3 separate regions of the Homo sapiens genome follow, and all the other regions are linked to region 3. The links are contacts of gene promoters, found by promoter capture Hi-C in blood cells and fetal thymus (Javierre and others, 2016). All regions are on one chromosome and are shown on one strand. The core of a region is centred on a gene start or on the middle of the fragment in contact, and the rest is flanking DNA. Distances in the headings are between cores, read along the strand shown. Region 1 overlaps ANKHD1-EIF4EBP3 (ANKHD1-EIF4EBP3 readthrough). Region 2 overlaps ANKHD1-EIF4EBP3 (ANKHD1-EIF4EBP3 readthrough). Region 3 holds the start of DND1 (DND microRNA-mediated repression inhibitor 1).

Region 1 (4,617 bases), core at 773-3,272, 200 kb before region 3:
CTCTGGATATCTGAATTCCAGCCAAGAAGTTCCAGGACCCTGCTGGGTGACAAAGGAAATCCTCTTCAATTGAAAAAGATTATGAAGTCCCAATAAAAAGAGATTTGTATTGCTGGTAGTTTGTTTCCTTAGTCTTCTTTCTCAGTGATATTCCTAAAAAAATCTCTTAGGTGAAAATAGATTTTCTTATTCAGGTAGTTCTTTTACATTCTCCTTTATTGGGAGAGTTAGTATACCGCAGAGAGAAAGTCTCAGTAATAAAGTCCTTTGCATTCAACTTTGTTCATCAAAAATCTGAAACTCAGAGTGATATTAATATATTGGATTGTTTTAAAAATAATACTCAAATAAACAAAAAAATTAGTTTAGCAAAACGTTTACTATATAGTTTATGCCCTAATTTCTATAAACTAGAAGTTTAAAATTTTCTTCTTAAAATTGTCTCCTACTATTCTGAAATTGGTTTTTAAGAAGGTGAATATTTTTTCATAGGAAATATTTCTTTTGAAAAAATGTGTGAATTTGTGCCCAGTGGTTTTAAAAGTCAAATAAATTTAATATCCATTATAATCCAAAGAGATTTATTTAAAATCAGGAGCAGTTTTTAATTTTAAAATTATTAATGAATTGTGATTAGATCACAAATAACTTAGGCCATCTAAGTTTCTTTTTTTTTTTTTTTTTGAGACAGAGTCTCGCCCTGTTGCCCAGGCTGGAGTGCAGTGGTGCTGCAATCTTGGCTCCCTGCAGCCTCTGCCTCCTGGGTTCAAGCGATTATCCTGCCCCAGCCTCCCAAGTAACTGGGATTACAGGCGCGTGCCACCGTGCCTACCTAATTTTTTGCATCTTTAGTAGAGACGGGGTTTCACCATGTTGGCTGGGCTGGTCTCGAACTCCTGACCTTGTGATCTACCCGCCTCGGCCTCCTAAAGTGCTGGGATTACAGGCGTGAGTCACCGTGCCTGGCCTAAGTTTCTTAATTCTAAACCCCTCTTAATCATGATGCTTATTAAGTGTCTTCATCATTGGCTTGTTAAATGAGAAGCTGTTTTATTTATTCTGTTGAGATTTTTAAAAATTTTTTAAATTTTTTTTTTTTGAGACAGGGTCTCACTCTGTTGCTCAGGCTGGAATGCAGTGGTGTGCTCTTGGCTCACTGCAGCCTTCCCATCCCAGGCTCAAGTGATCTTCCTGCCTCAGCCTCCCCAGTAGCTGGGACTAGAGGCATGTGCCACCATGCCCAACTAATTTTTTTCATTTTTATAGAGATGAGGTCTCACTGTACTGTCCAGGCTGGATATATTTATTCTACTTTGAAGTAAGTAAGTTTATTTTACAAAATGTGATGTGAACATGTGAGCTTCTACTCAGTTTGTATAATATTATAGGCTCCTATCAAGAATGTAAAGCTGAGTGTTATTTCAGATCAAAGTAATTGTTTTTCCCTGGATTTGTTAGATGAAATGTAATTGTAAATCTTTCTCTCTAGCTGCAAGTCTCAAAACAGGATTTTTTTAAAAATGAGTTTTGCAGCCCCACGTTTACAGGTTCAGATTCCATAGATCTGAAATAGGGGGTCTGCATTTGAACTAATATCTCAGGAGATTCTGATGACAAGTTCTCCATATTTTACACTTTGAGACATTGGTAGAGGCCATACAGATTATTCTGCATCATTGCTGAGTTCTTTTCTTTTTCCATCTTTGCTTTATAATCGATCATTTTTCCTCCATCCAAATTGAATAAACTTGGTTTTTCTCTCTGTTACTTGTGATTTTTAGAAAATGTGCTAAACACAAGCCTTAGGACCAGTGCCTCTTAACCTTTTATCCATATCAGTTCTCCTGAGGGGTATGAATCCAATCAGTAATAGTAGATCACTAAGGTAATGATTAATATACAGTGGTGGGTTGAAGGAACATACTCCCCATGGAAGAGTATTGGAATCCTCTAGTACGTACAGTATCAAACAGTCTCCCTCCTTTTCTCTGTGATTTTGGTCTTTCTCCTTAGAGAATGTCCTCCCTCCAACTCCAAAAGACATTGCCTCTGTGGTATAGTTACAGTCCTTAAATATATGTCTTGGGTGCCCTGTGGCTGTGATTTTTTAAGGGAAATTAACTTATTTTAAATAAAATAAACTTAATTTAAAATAAAATTTTGTTATCTAAAGCCAAATAGAAAAAATTCCACATTTTTTCTTACAGTGCTCATTCATCAGAACCTTTTTTTTTTCTTCTTTTTTTTTTTTTTTTTGGAGATGGTCTCACTTTGTCGCTCAGGCTAGAGTACAAAAGCGTGATTATAGCTCACTGCAGCTTTGAACTCCTGGGCTCATGGCATCCCCTTTCCTCAGCCTCCTGAGTAGCTAGGACTACAGGTATGCACCACAATGCCTGGCTAATTTTTAAATTTTTTTTCAGAGACAAAGTCTTGCTATCTTGCCCAGACTTGTAGTGTATTTTTTATAGATATATTTTTAGGGAGCTTATGAGCTCTAGTAATCTACTTATCAATGTATTTCAACTGTTAGTAATTACCTTACCTTAATAAACTTTAAATGTGACCTTACCTTCCACTTTTTAACTTTTTTATTAAGGAATAGCGTATATACATATTTTTAACTTTACTACTTAAAACTAGGAAACTTCTGTCAATTTCTTAAAAATCTAAAACTACCTATGGAATACACAAAACTCCTAATACATTTCTTTTAAAGCCAAGTTCTCTCTTTCTATGTTATTGTGTATTGAATGAGTTCTTTTCAGCTCTCTCCAGGTTGTTTAAATATAAGTACAAATGACTTCAGTCAAGAAGGTAAAGTCATTATTAGTATATAGAAAAATGAATCTAAAAATATGTAGTCGTGCCCCAAAACAACAGGATTAAAGATCTCCGTGGACTAGAAGTGCAGCATGGATCCACAGTTTAAGCTGTAGTCCCAAGGAGAATTAAGGGCTAAAAAAATACACAATGGGGGCTGAGATTTCAGCATGTGCAGAGGAATAGGGAATGAATGCATTTCACATGTAGTACATCAGTAGATCTAGTCTACTTGAATAAAGCAAGGAACCGGCATCTTATTGCCCTACCTGTGAACCAAAATGGATAAAAAAATATTTGATCAACTATCTAGGGTTATGGTTAGAAATTAGCAAATTGTCATATCCAGGTTGTATGTAAAAAACAAAACAAAACAAACCCAAAAAAACTAAAAAAAAGGGGGGAAAAATTAGCAAATTGTCGTTAATGGAAGAAACAGAGACAACTGTGTAACTAAAAACTTGGAGGACAACCTTCTTGATTTAGGGAACAGAAGTGAAATATCTCTATGAGACAAGAACCTTAGGTGTCCAGCAAAATATCTACTTCTGAAATGGACTCCAAGAGCCAGACTGAGGGAACTTCCAAAACATCTGATGAGGAGTACATCTGTGGATGGAAAAGAAACTAAAACAAAACACCTCCCATCAAAATGAGTTTCCTCAGTAAAAAAATTATAAAGCTGGAGAGCGAATCTTTATCAAGAAAGATAGTCAAAATGTAAACAAACAAAAAGCAAAATATAATACACTCAAGGAAATTGAAATAAACTTTAATCTTGAGAATTATGAACATGTTTATTTTAAACTATGACCAGTAGCCATAAAACAATGTGAGATAATAAAGCAAAAGCTGATAATTACGTATTAAGAACAGGTGGATATAAAATAAAACTAAAAGTTTTGGGGGGTAACCTCAATATATAGGGTAAGACAGCATATTAGACACAGTTGAATGCATTAGTGAATGAGTGATAAAACAAGAAATAATACAATAAAATATATAATGAAATATAGTAAAGAGATAGAAAATATGAAAAAGAAATTGAGAGAAAGAGAATAGATTAGAAGCTCCACCATATTATCTACTAGAAGTTCCTGAAGGAGAGGATAGAAATGGAGGGGAGAGGAAATGTTTGAAGAGAATGGTGGAGAATTTTCTAGCATTGTGACTAGACATGAATCCTTGACTGAAGAATCATATCCATCACTAAGCAGAACAGATGAAACTGTGGAACTTTAAGGATAATGAAAAATGTCTTAAAAGCTATCAGAGGAAAAAAACGCATTACCTACAAAAAAACAACCATCAAAGTTTTGACCTTCTCATCAGCAATAATAAATTACAGAAGATGATGGGAAGTAATATCCTCAAAATACCAAGATAAAATAACAATACAGAATTCTGTACTTAAGTACCATTCTAGAGAAGGAAAAAATAAACATATTTTCAAATCTACAAAGAATAAACGAATTACCATCATTAGACCCTTGACAAAAGAACTACTAAAAGATATATACATCAGTAAGAAGAAAAGTGAGTCCTGGAGGAAGGCGTGGGATACAAGAAACTACGGTAAGCAAAGAAATTGATAAAACATATTATAAATACAAATGTTTGAGTTTAAAAACCTAAATTTTAATGTTTAAAACCAAAGTAGTACTAAAATTCTAGAAAACAATAGCAGGAAATCAGAAGGATGTGTTAGAGAGTTTAAAAGCCACGCTAGAGTCTTTTGTTGTTGTTCAGGAGGAGAAGGTACTGAATAAAGTTTTTTTTTAAAGAAAAATAGAA
Region 2 (4,503 bases), core at 1,298-3,797, 160 kb before region 3:
GCAACATTTACATTCTTTTAATCTAAGTAATGAGGAAGTGTAGTTTTTCCTTGGCTTTTTACCACACAAAGAGAAATGAGTCTTTCCTGTCATTCAATTTGTCTTTTTCTATTACAAGTATTCATTGTGTGCCACTCATCCATTAAAGGTCCTAGAGAAATCTGTGTTATTTTGGATAGTACCAGTAGGAAATGTCCTTTGAAAAAATGTTGGAGACTAACGTACCAAAGGCACATATGCAAAAAATTTATAAAGTGATTTTAATCTACTTATTTTTAATATCTCTATTCATTATGCAAAGAAATTATCTGAGTAAATTCACAAAAGTATAGAAGTTACAGAATTGTTTTTAGCATGAGATAACATGTTTTAAGTTCATTCTAGCACGTCTGAATCTAACAATTTCTACTGCTGTTTAGTAAAATTCAAGGCAAAATATTGCTTAGCTCTTTTATGAGAGCTAATCAGAACTAGAATTGTCTTAAAAGTTAATTGCCTCAGGTTTTTAAAGAAATTATGTAGCTTAGTTTTGGTCTACGGAATAGTTAAAAAAAGAAATGTAACTTAGTTGCATAATTTATTGGTTTAAACAGACGGGTCTTACCCCCTTGATGGAAGCAGCTTCTGGAGGGTATGCAGAGGTTGGAAGAGTTCTTCTTGATAAAGGAGCAGATGTTAATGCTCCCCCTGTGCCTTCCTCAAGAGATACTGCTTTAACAATAGCAGCAGACAAAGGTCACTACAAATTTTGTGAACTCCTGATTCATAGGTGAGTACTTTTCTATTATATGTAGAACTTCTCATGGTCATTTTCACTTTTCAGAGCTTTTAAAGTTAATAACATTGTTTTACTTTATTGATATTGTTAAGAAAAGATTATTTGCAAGTTATTTTGTAAAAGAAGAAGATAGAGAAAACTAGAAAAAGCCAGCCTCTTCTTACAGGAAACAAACTATTAATATGCCTTGTTTACAGGGGAGCCCACATTGATGTTCGTAACAAAAAGGGAAATACGCCACTTTGGCTGGCATCCAATGGAGGTCATTTTGATGTTGTGCAGTTGCTAGTGCAAGCAGGTGCTGATGTGGATGCAGCAGATAACCGGAAAATCACACCTCTTATGTCAGCATTTCGCAAGGTAATTTGATATGGGGGAAGAAAGGTCAATTTTAAGCCAATTCTAAGTTAAAACCATGTGAGAAAGATAAGTTTATCTTGGAGAATTGAGTATATTTCCATAGAAAAATCACTGCTATCTTTCCATTCTTTTTTTTTTTTTTTTTTTTTGAGACGGAGTCTTACTCTGTCACATAGGCTAGAATGCAGTGGCATGATCGCGGCTCACTGCAACCTCTGCCTCCCAGGTTCAAGTGATTCTCCTGCCTCAGCCTCCTGAGTAGCTGGGATTACAGGCATGCGTCACCACACCCGGCTAATTTTTGTATTTTTAGTAGAGATGGGGTGTCACCACGTTGGTCAGGCTGGTCTCAAACTCCTGACTTTGTGATCTGCCTGCCTCAGCCTCCCAAAGTGCTAGGATTACAGGCTCCCGACCTTATCTTTCCATTCTTTTGTGGCCAAATCTAAGATCTATGTGGTAGTTCACTATAAGCAACTTGGTTGTTAAATCACTTGGTGTCTTGACTATTTGTGATACATTGTTCATGAAACAGAAGATTTAAGAAAAACTATTATATGCAGATGGATTTTTTTGTGCCTAAAGAGGAACAAAAAGGAGTAGACTTTCATAAAAACTTACTGTATCTTCTGTGTGCGTGTGTGTGTGTGTGTGTGAGTATGAAACGGTCTCAGTCTGTCAACCAGGCTGGAGTGCAGTGGCATGATCATAGCTCACTATAGCCTCAACCTCCCAGGCTCAATTGATCCTCCCGCCTCAGCCTCCTGAGTAGCTGGGACCACAGGTGTCACTACCATGCTCAGATTTTTTTTATTTTTACTTTTTGTAGAGACGAGGTCTTGCTATGTTGCCCAGGCTGGTCTCAAACTCCTGGGCTCAGCGATTCTCCCACCTCTGCCTGCCAAAGTGCTGAGATATGGGCGTGAGCCATGCCTCTCATATATATTAAAGTTCATGCCCGGCCTCTCATATATATTAAAGTTCACTTATCTGCTGTATTTTTAAAAGCCTTCCCATTGGTATAGCTTCCCAAACTATAAACTACTTAGTAGGGCATGTAAAGACCTGCATAATAAGCTTCATGTCAACCTCCCCATACAAATCATTTATGCTACTATCCCCTTTTGCTCACTGTTTTCTAGTTACTGGCCTAGAATGCACTAAATTTTCAACTGCCTCAGGGCCTTTGCTCACTGATTTTCTTTTCCTGAAATGATTTCCTTTGCTGTTCACCTAGCTCACCTCTCTACTCATCTGTTAGCTCCAATTTTACATGTCAGTTCTCAAAGAGTATTTCTCTAACACCAAATCTGAAAAAGGTCCCTCTGTTTCTCTTTTATAGTTGAGTTTTGATTTTCCTTACCCCAATTTGTAATTATATCTTCAAACATGTACTTACCATTTTAATGCCTGTCTCGCCAACTAGACTGGTAGGTCCATGAGGACAAGAGTCATGACCATCTTTTTCAGCACTGTTTATATACCCAGTTGTTTAGCACAGTGCAATTTACATATAGTGAAATGCATGAATCTTAAGGTACATGGTTTAGTTTTGATAAACGTATACATACATGTAACCCATACCCCATAAACATATAAATTATTTCTGTAACCCTAGAAGGTTCCCTCTTGCCCACTTTTAGTCACTTCCCTGCCCCAGAGGCAAGCATTTCTCTGATTTGTATCTCCATCACACTAATTCTTAAGGATGTTTTAGAACCTTGGTAGGAAGGGAAACTATGCAAGCTTGGTTACATTAAAATAGATATGCTGGCCGGGTGCGGTGGCTCACGCCCATAATCCCAGCACTTTGGGAGGCCGAGTCAGGTGGATCACCTGAGGTCAGGAGTTCAAGACCAGCCTGGCCAACATGGTAAATCCCCGTCTCTACTAAAAATACAAAAATTAGCCAGGCGTGATGGTAGGCACCTGTAATCTCAGCTACTCCGGAGGCTGAGGCAGGAGAGTTGCTAGAACCCGGGAGGCGGAGGTTGCAGTGAGACAAGAGCGTGCCGTGGCACTCCAGCCGGGGCAACAACAGCGAGACTCCCATCTCAAAAAAAAAAAAAAAAAGATATGCTTAGAATTGATTACAGATCTTTCAACCCTTGATAATGGCATTTAGAAAGTGTTTTATTTAGATTCAAGTCCTAAGGCTCAGAAAGTTGTGATAGTCCACCTTGTTTAGTTAGTGAAGTAGAGGCAAAGTAAGACTTTGAAATTTAAAAAAAAATTACTTATTTTAGGACTCATTTCCCTTTTACACTGAGGTTCATTTTACATCACCAATGTTTGTTTAATAGATTTATTCTAGGAGATACTGTTTTTCTACAAAAGCTTTTTCTAATTTCAGTGGGATTAAATTCAGGAGAAATGTTGTCTAGTCCACCATCCATTCCTGAGCACACATTCTTGTCTTTTATGCCTTTCTTTTTATAAGCTGAATGCTGATCTTATTTTTATAATTTTAATTTTAAGCTTAATATTCTATTTGGAAGTATTTGCCTTTTTATTCTTAAATTGGTAGGCATATATGCAAAATCAAGGGATTCCTTTGTAATTCTGTTGTTTTACTTTCTTTTATTCTTAAGAATAATAATTTTTCTTTTCATGCTACCTTGTCTAAGATTGTTGTACTTCTTATAGGGTCATGTAAAAGTTGTTCAATATTTGGTAAAGGAAGTAAATCAGTTCCCTTCTGATATAGAATGCATGAGATACATAGCAACAATTACAGATAAGGTAAGTTTAATATGCTACTGAAGCACATTTTTGTTCTTTGTGGAATGATATGCCAAAGTGTGCAGTTAGGAACTTGTTCTTTTTATATTCTGAAAGGTTGGTCACCTGATCTCTTTATGCGTTTGTTTCTCCATTTGCAAAATAGAGGGGTATAATACTTTTGATAAACTATTTTGAGATTTCTACTGTGGACCATAGTCACAGTGACTACACTAAGGTACTAAACCATTAGCCTAATGAGAAGGCTTCCTAAGGACATGCAGGTTTTTAGGGAAATGGTGTCTTATTTTTGTGAAAGATTGGACTCAAAGGATAACTTAATTTGGTTTAGTGACTTTTCAGTTTGAACTTTAACCTCTGGACTTTAATGTGCTCATCAGCTTAAGTTTTATTTGGCCTCTTTCATTATATATTTACATAATTCTATTTCCTGCTGTAGGAACTGTTGAAAAAATGTCATCAATGTGTCGAAACCATTGTGAAGGCTAAAGACCAGCAAGCTGCAGAAGCAAATAAGAATGCGAGTATTCTTTTAAAGGAACTTGATCTGGAAAAGGTGAGTGGGAAAAATAATTTTCCTTTTTAGAAATTATTGAGGGTGGGGGCCGGGCACGGTGGCTCAC
Region 3 (4,445 bases), core at 933-3,432:
TGGCCACCTCATGCCCATCCCGGCCATCTAGGGTCAGCACAACCCAGATGAGGCCGCTGAAGGGCACCGGATGCCCAGGAATCACCACCTGGTACCAGAAGCGGTGCCAGCCAGCAGGTCCTATGCCCAAACACTTGGTGAGGAACACAGGGCTGCCCAGCTTCATTCGTTGGCACAGCAACTGCAGGGTAGCCCGAGCCCCTTGGAACCCTAACTTGTCCCTTGCCAAAGCCAACTGGCTGCCCTCTGGCTGTGGGGACCGCAAGAAGGGACCCACAAGCTGCTGGCGAAGTCGCTGCTTCAGGTCTGGCTTGAGCCACTCCACAGCCACCTGCTCTCCACAGAGGTGTGACTGCCCTGTAGGAAAAATGCAAAGACAAGGGCAGGTCTAAACCCTGGGCCCAAGCCTCCAGGTGGTGAGCCCTTTGGAGCTACACAGTCCTGTTATTTGTAGCCTTCCCATTTCCTGGTAGTGTGACCATGGGTAAGAAAAGACAATGAAGCCTTCAGCCTCCATTATTTGCAAAGGGAGTATAACACACTGCTACCTTACAAGTTTCCTTGGAGAAGTACTGGTTAATTGCAGGCTTTGTCTGCCTCATAACCATCATAATGGCTAATCTTTACTGGGAAAACTTGCTGTAAGTCAGTCAGTGTGCTAAGTACCGTACACCCATTATGTTACTTAATTCTCATAACAGTCTGAGGAAACAGATTCTATAGTAGTAAAAAGCTCAGTTGGATTCCCTTGAGCAAATCAATTTCTCTAACAGTTTCCTCATAGCTTGAGGGTCCTGTGCCTATTTTGCGGTGTGGGGGTGGGGGAAGGTTGAGAATTAAGTCAGGAGGTAATGCTCGGGAAGTGTCACAAATTTAGGTAAGCGGTGGTGGTAGCACCATTGGAAGTTTTAAAAATCTGAGATCAAATAGTAAAAGGTTGCAAATTCTGGCATGTTTGACTCTAAGATCTTGTAACTTTAACAGCTATGCTCAGTATAAAGTGCCGGGCAGAACGCGTTTGGCCCCAACCAGCACCCCCGCCCCAGCCTACCTTCCACCAGGGCCTTTTTGGCCATGGCAGCGGCCCGGTGCGAGCTGAATTTGAGCAGAGCGATCTGCCCGGGCGCCGGTCCGGGGCTGGGCAGCAGCCGCGCCTCCTGCAAGCCGGGACCCAGCGGCTGCAGCGCGAGCAGCAGCGCGCTGCGGGTCAGATTCGGCGGCAGGCCGTCAACGCTCAGCTCACACTTCTCGGTGCTGCGGCACACGAGCAGCGGGCAGGACGGCCGCAGCGGATGGTTGTGCAGCGTGGCGATGGCGGCCTGCGCGCCGCGCCTCGAGCTGTAGCGGGCATAGGCGAAGCCGCGGTTCAGGCCGCTGAAGGTCATCATCAGGCGGAACTCGTAGAGGCGGCCCACGCGCTGGAACAGCGGGATAAGCTGGTGCTCGTACACGTCCTGAGGCAGCCGCCCGATGAACACCTCTGACCCAGCTGGCGGCGGGCTGCCCACCCAGCCTGTGGGAAGAGGGTATGCAAGGCCACCGTCAGGCGACGCTTTCGAATTCTGAGCCCACGGACCCAGCGCGCGGGGGTGGGAGGCGATGTGAACAAAGGTCTGTGAAATGGGTTTACACCCGTACCCTGGGTGGTTGGCATAATTAGGTGACTGCGCTAACAAGGGGGCTGGCACAGAGTAGGTACACCTTGAGATTGGCCCCCTCCCTCGACGGGGCGGGTGGACGTGGAGCCACAGTTCCTCCTTTGCTGGGGGGTATAAATCCGGGTAGTTCGCAGTTTCTGACAGTGAAGGCTCGGAGCAGCCCCTCCCCCAAAGGGGGCTGGTGTAGCCGGACAGGCGGAGGGGCTGGGACTACCGTACCTGGGGGTGGCCCGCCATACTTCCTCTGCCCGTTCACCTGCACCAGGCGGATGCCTGTCTCCCTGACCCACGCCTCCAGCGCCGCCTTGTTCTCTGGATTCACCCTCTCACACCACAGCTGAGAGGGAAAGGAAGGTTGGAATGGCGGATCGCCAAGCGCGCCCCCACCTCTCCTGTGGTACTGGGGTCCCTAAAGCCGACCCCCGCTCCGGCGGGGCTCGCCGGCCCCCAAGTCGCCAGCCGCTTACCTCACAATCCCGCTTGGACTGCATGGCTCTCCAGCTGGCCCCCTCGTACCCTCTTTATAACTTCCTCCCCACCGGCCTCTGGAAGCTTCCCTACCCCTCCACCCCGCAAGCTCTCATTGGCTCTGAGCGCGACCCCGCCTCCCAGGGGGGTGGAGGTATCCACTGCACGTGCGCCGCCCGGGCTTCGCTCAGACCTTCAGGTGAAAGCTGCAAAGTCGCGGGTGCGTATGTACGGGGGCTGCCTCCCGAGGAGGAGCTCCCAAGCCGCAGGGTGGACGCTGGAGACAAGAACCTCAGGGTCACAAGTTTACTGTTTTTCTCCCTTTTCCATCCCTACATTGGTCTGCTGGGGAAGGCGGGGCTAGGCATCACTGACACACGCAGACTCCGTGGTTGAGGCATTTTATTGGACCTTTGGCAATTGGTGGTGGGGAGGCATCTGCTCCAACTGGTGCGGGGCCCTGCAGATGGGACCATCTCAGGCTGGGTCCTTGTAGCCCAGGAGCACAGACTGGACTAAGCCTCCTGGGCCTTGTATGAAAAAGGTGTTGTACCTGGCCGTTTTTGCCAGTAATAATCAATAAAATAACCATAATAAAAATCAAAGGCTCTGTTCTGACCACTCTTCAGGTCTTCCGCTGAAACGGAAAAGTGCAAAGCAATTGAAGTACATATGCAGTTTGTCTTAACCTCAAATAGTGCCAGTCCCACTTCCTTTCCTCTGATAGTTTGTTCAGTTCAGCAGATGCAGAGGGGCTGGCCTGTTCTCCTTTTGATTTCCTCCACAAGGTCTTCTCTTCGGACATCCACCTGGCCAGGATGGGAGAAGAAGGTGGTATAAGCATCTTCCATTCCACTGCTCCCCGAGTGCCTAGTTTCCTCTAGCCCTCTAGGCATCAGGCTTGTCTCAGCTGGGAGCAGGAACCTAATTAAACACCTCAGGCTAGAGTGTGCCTCTTGGGGGAGCCAACAAACCATAAGGTATATGCAGGGATGGAGATCTCACCCTACTAAGACCACAGTAACAGGTTAAGCCCTCAAGGCTTTTATGAGTTGTACTAATATCAATGCCAGGCTTTTTCTCAGGTCTTGAATGGGCATGGGCCTGCCAAAATGGCATACATTCTCTGTCCCTTAGCCTTCCTGCCCACCTCCCTCACCTCTTCCCTGCTCGTCACTGAACGGAGCTTGATGACCCCATCCTTGAGTTCCTGCTCGCCGATGATAGCCACCAGTGGGATGCCTGCCTCCTCACAGTACTGTAACTGGTTCAGTAGCTTTGGGTTCTTCTTGTACAGCAGCTCAGCCTGCAGGGGACAAGAGCAGAAGATGAAGGCTGGCTTCTGCTGTCCTCAGGGACAGAGGGTGTCCAAGCTGGCACCCTGTTCTTAGCTCTACTTTTGAGAAGTAATGGCAGGATCCATTATGGGTGAGCTTTTATTCAGTTTGTGTCCAGCACACCTAAGTTTGCTGCCACCCTGGGGCTTGCCTCCCATACCTTGATCCCAGCATCCCACAGTTCTGAGACAAGCTTTAGTCTTTCCTCTAGCAGCTTCTTCTGTGCAGATGCCACAAGCACCTGTGTCTCCGTGGTCCGTATCTTCTCCTCCAAAGCCTGGGGAAGGGGCAGATAAAAGAGAGCTGGGCTAACACCTTCAAGGAGCAAACAAAGCAGGCTCTAGTCGGGATTTTGAGACCAGGCCCAACTCAGCTCTACCAGGGCAGGGGCCCTGTCTTCTCATCTAGCACCTTGGGCATAAAGGTAGCTTTTAGTAGATATGAGGACTGAACTGACTGACTTGTACATAGGACGTATCAGAATAAATAACTTAGGGCAAGAGTAAAGGTAGCTTTTTTACAGTAACTTCAAGCTTATCTCCATGTAGTACCTTTTTTTTTTTTTTGAGACAGGGTCTCTGTCATCCAGGCTGAAGTGCCGTGGTGTGATCACTGCAGCTTCGACCTCCCAAGCTCAAGTGATCCTCCCACCTCAGCCTCCTGACTACAGGCACACACCACCATACTCAGCTAATTTAAAAAAAAAAAAAAATTTTTTTTTTTAATCTGTAGAGACAGGGTCTCATCATGTTGCCCAGGCTGGTCCATGTAGTACCTTAAGGGTCCACCAAAGCATTCACACAGAAGTACTACTATGAGCCCACCCCAATTAGATCACCCTTGACAGTTTTAGTCCCCACTTACTATCTACCCATTTATGACACTGTGCCTCTCACACTTCAGTTACAGGGCACAGGCGTGTATATGGGTGTGGGGAAAGGAGAATGCTGCTGCTGCTTCCCTTGTCTTTTTCAGGAAAACT

The links. Contacts are between HindIII fragments. The CHiCAGO score rates a contact against its expected background, and 5 or more counts as called.
Region 1: a fragment that was not itself captured here is called in contact with the fragment with the promoter of DND1 in region 3 in 2 of 17 cell types (naive CD8 T cells and monocytes); the score reaches 6.1 in naive CD8 T cells.
Region 2: a contact is called between a fragment that was not itself captured here and the fragment with the promoter of DND1 in region 3, in 1 of 17 cell types (monocytes). The highest score is 6.0, in monocytes.

What each region holds. Positions count from the first base shown.
Region 1 is chr5:140,472,360-140,476,976 of GRCh38, forward strand. All of the region lies in intron 10 of ANKHD1-EIF4EBP3 (ANKHD1-EIF4EBP3 readthrough), which reads left to right. The region is part of intron 10 of ANKHD1 (ankyrin repeat and KH domain containing 1); the gene reads left to right. Among named protein-coding and RNA genes, the nearest start is that of ANKHD1-EIF4EBP3, 73 kb to the left of the region's middle. The HindIII fragment of the contact is 5,450 bases long and covers 1-4,617 here.
Region 2 is chr5:140,509,044-140,513,546 of GRCh38, forward strand. ANKHD1-EIF4EBP3 (ANKHD1-EIF4EBP3 readthrough) reads left to right here. Exons shown (of 36, transcript NM_020690.6): 21 at 594-769; 22 at 976-1,138; 23 at 3,785-3,880; 24 at 4,320-4,436. ANKHD1 (ankyrin repeat and KH domain containing 1) reads left to right here. Exons shown (of 34, transcript NM_017747.3): 21 at 594-769; 22 at 976-1,138; 23 at 3,785-3,880; 24 at 4,320-4,436. Among named protein-coding and RNA genes, the nearest start is that of EIF4EBP3, 36 kb to the right of the region's middle. The HindIII fragment of the contact is 669 bases long and covers 2,214-2,882 here.
Region 3 is chr5:140,671,394-140,675,838 of GRCh38, forward strand. DND1 (DND microRNA-mediated repression inhibitor 1) reads right to left here and starts at 2,183. Exons shown (of 4, transcript NM_194249.3): 1 at 2,126-2,183; 2 at 1,878-1,995; 3 at 1,052-1,513; 4 at 1-357. The coding sequence starts at 2,149. WDR55 (WD repeat domain 55) reads left to right here. Exons shown (of 7, transcript NM_017706.5): 7 at 1-952. HARS1 (histidyl-tRNA synthetase 1) reads right to left here. Exons shown (of 13, transcript NM_002109.6): 11 at 3,624-3,740; 12 at 3,286-3,432; 13 at 2,512-2,935. The coding sequence ends at 2,864. RefSeq lists enhancers at 1,057-1,852, 1,853-2,648. The HindIII fragment of the contact is 8,462 bases long and covers 1-2,208 here.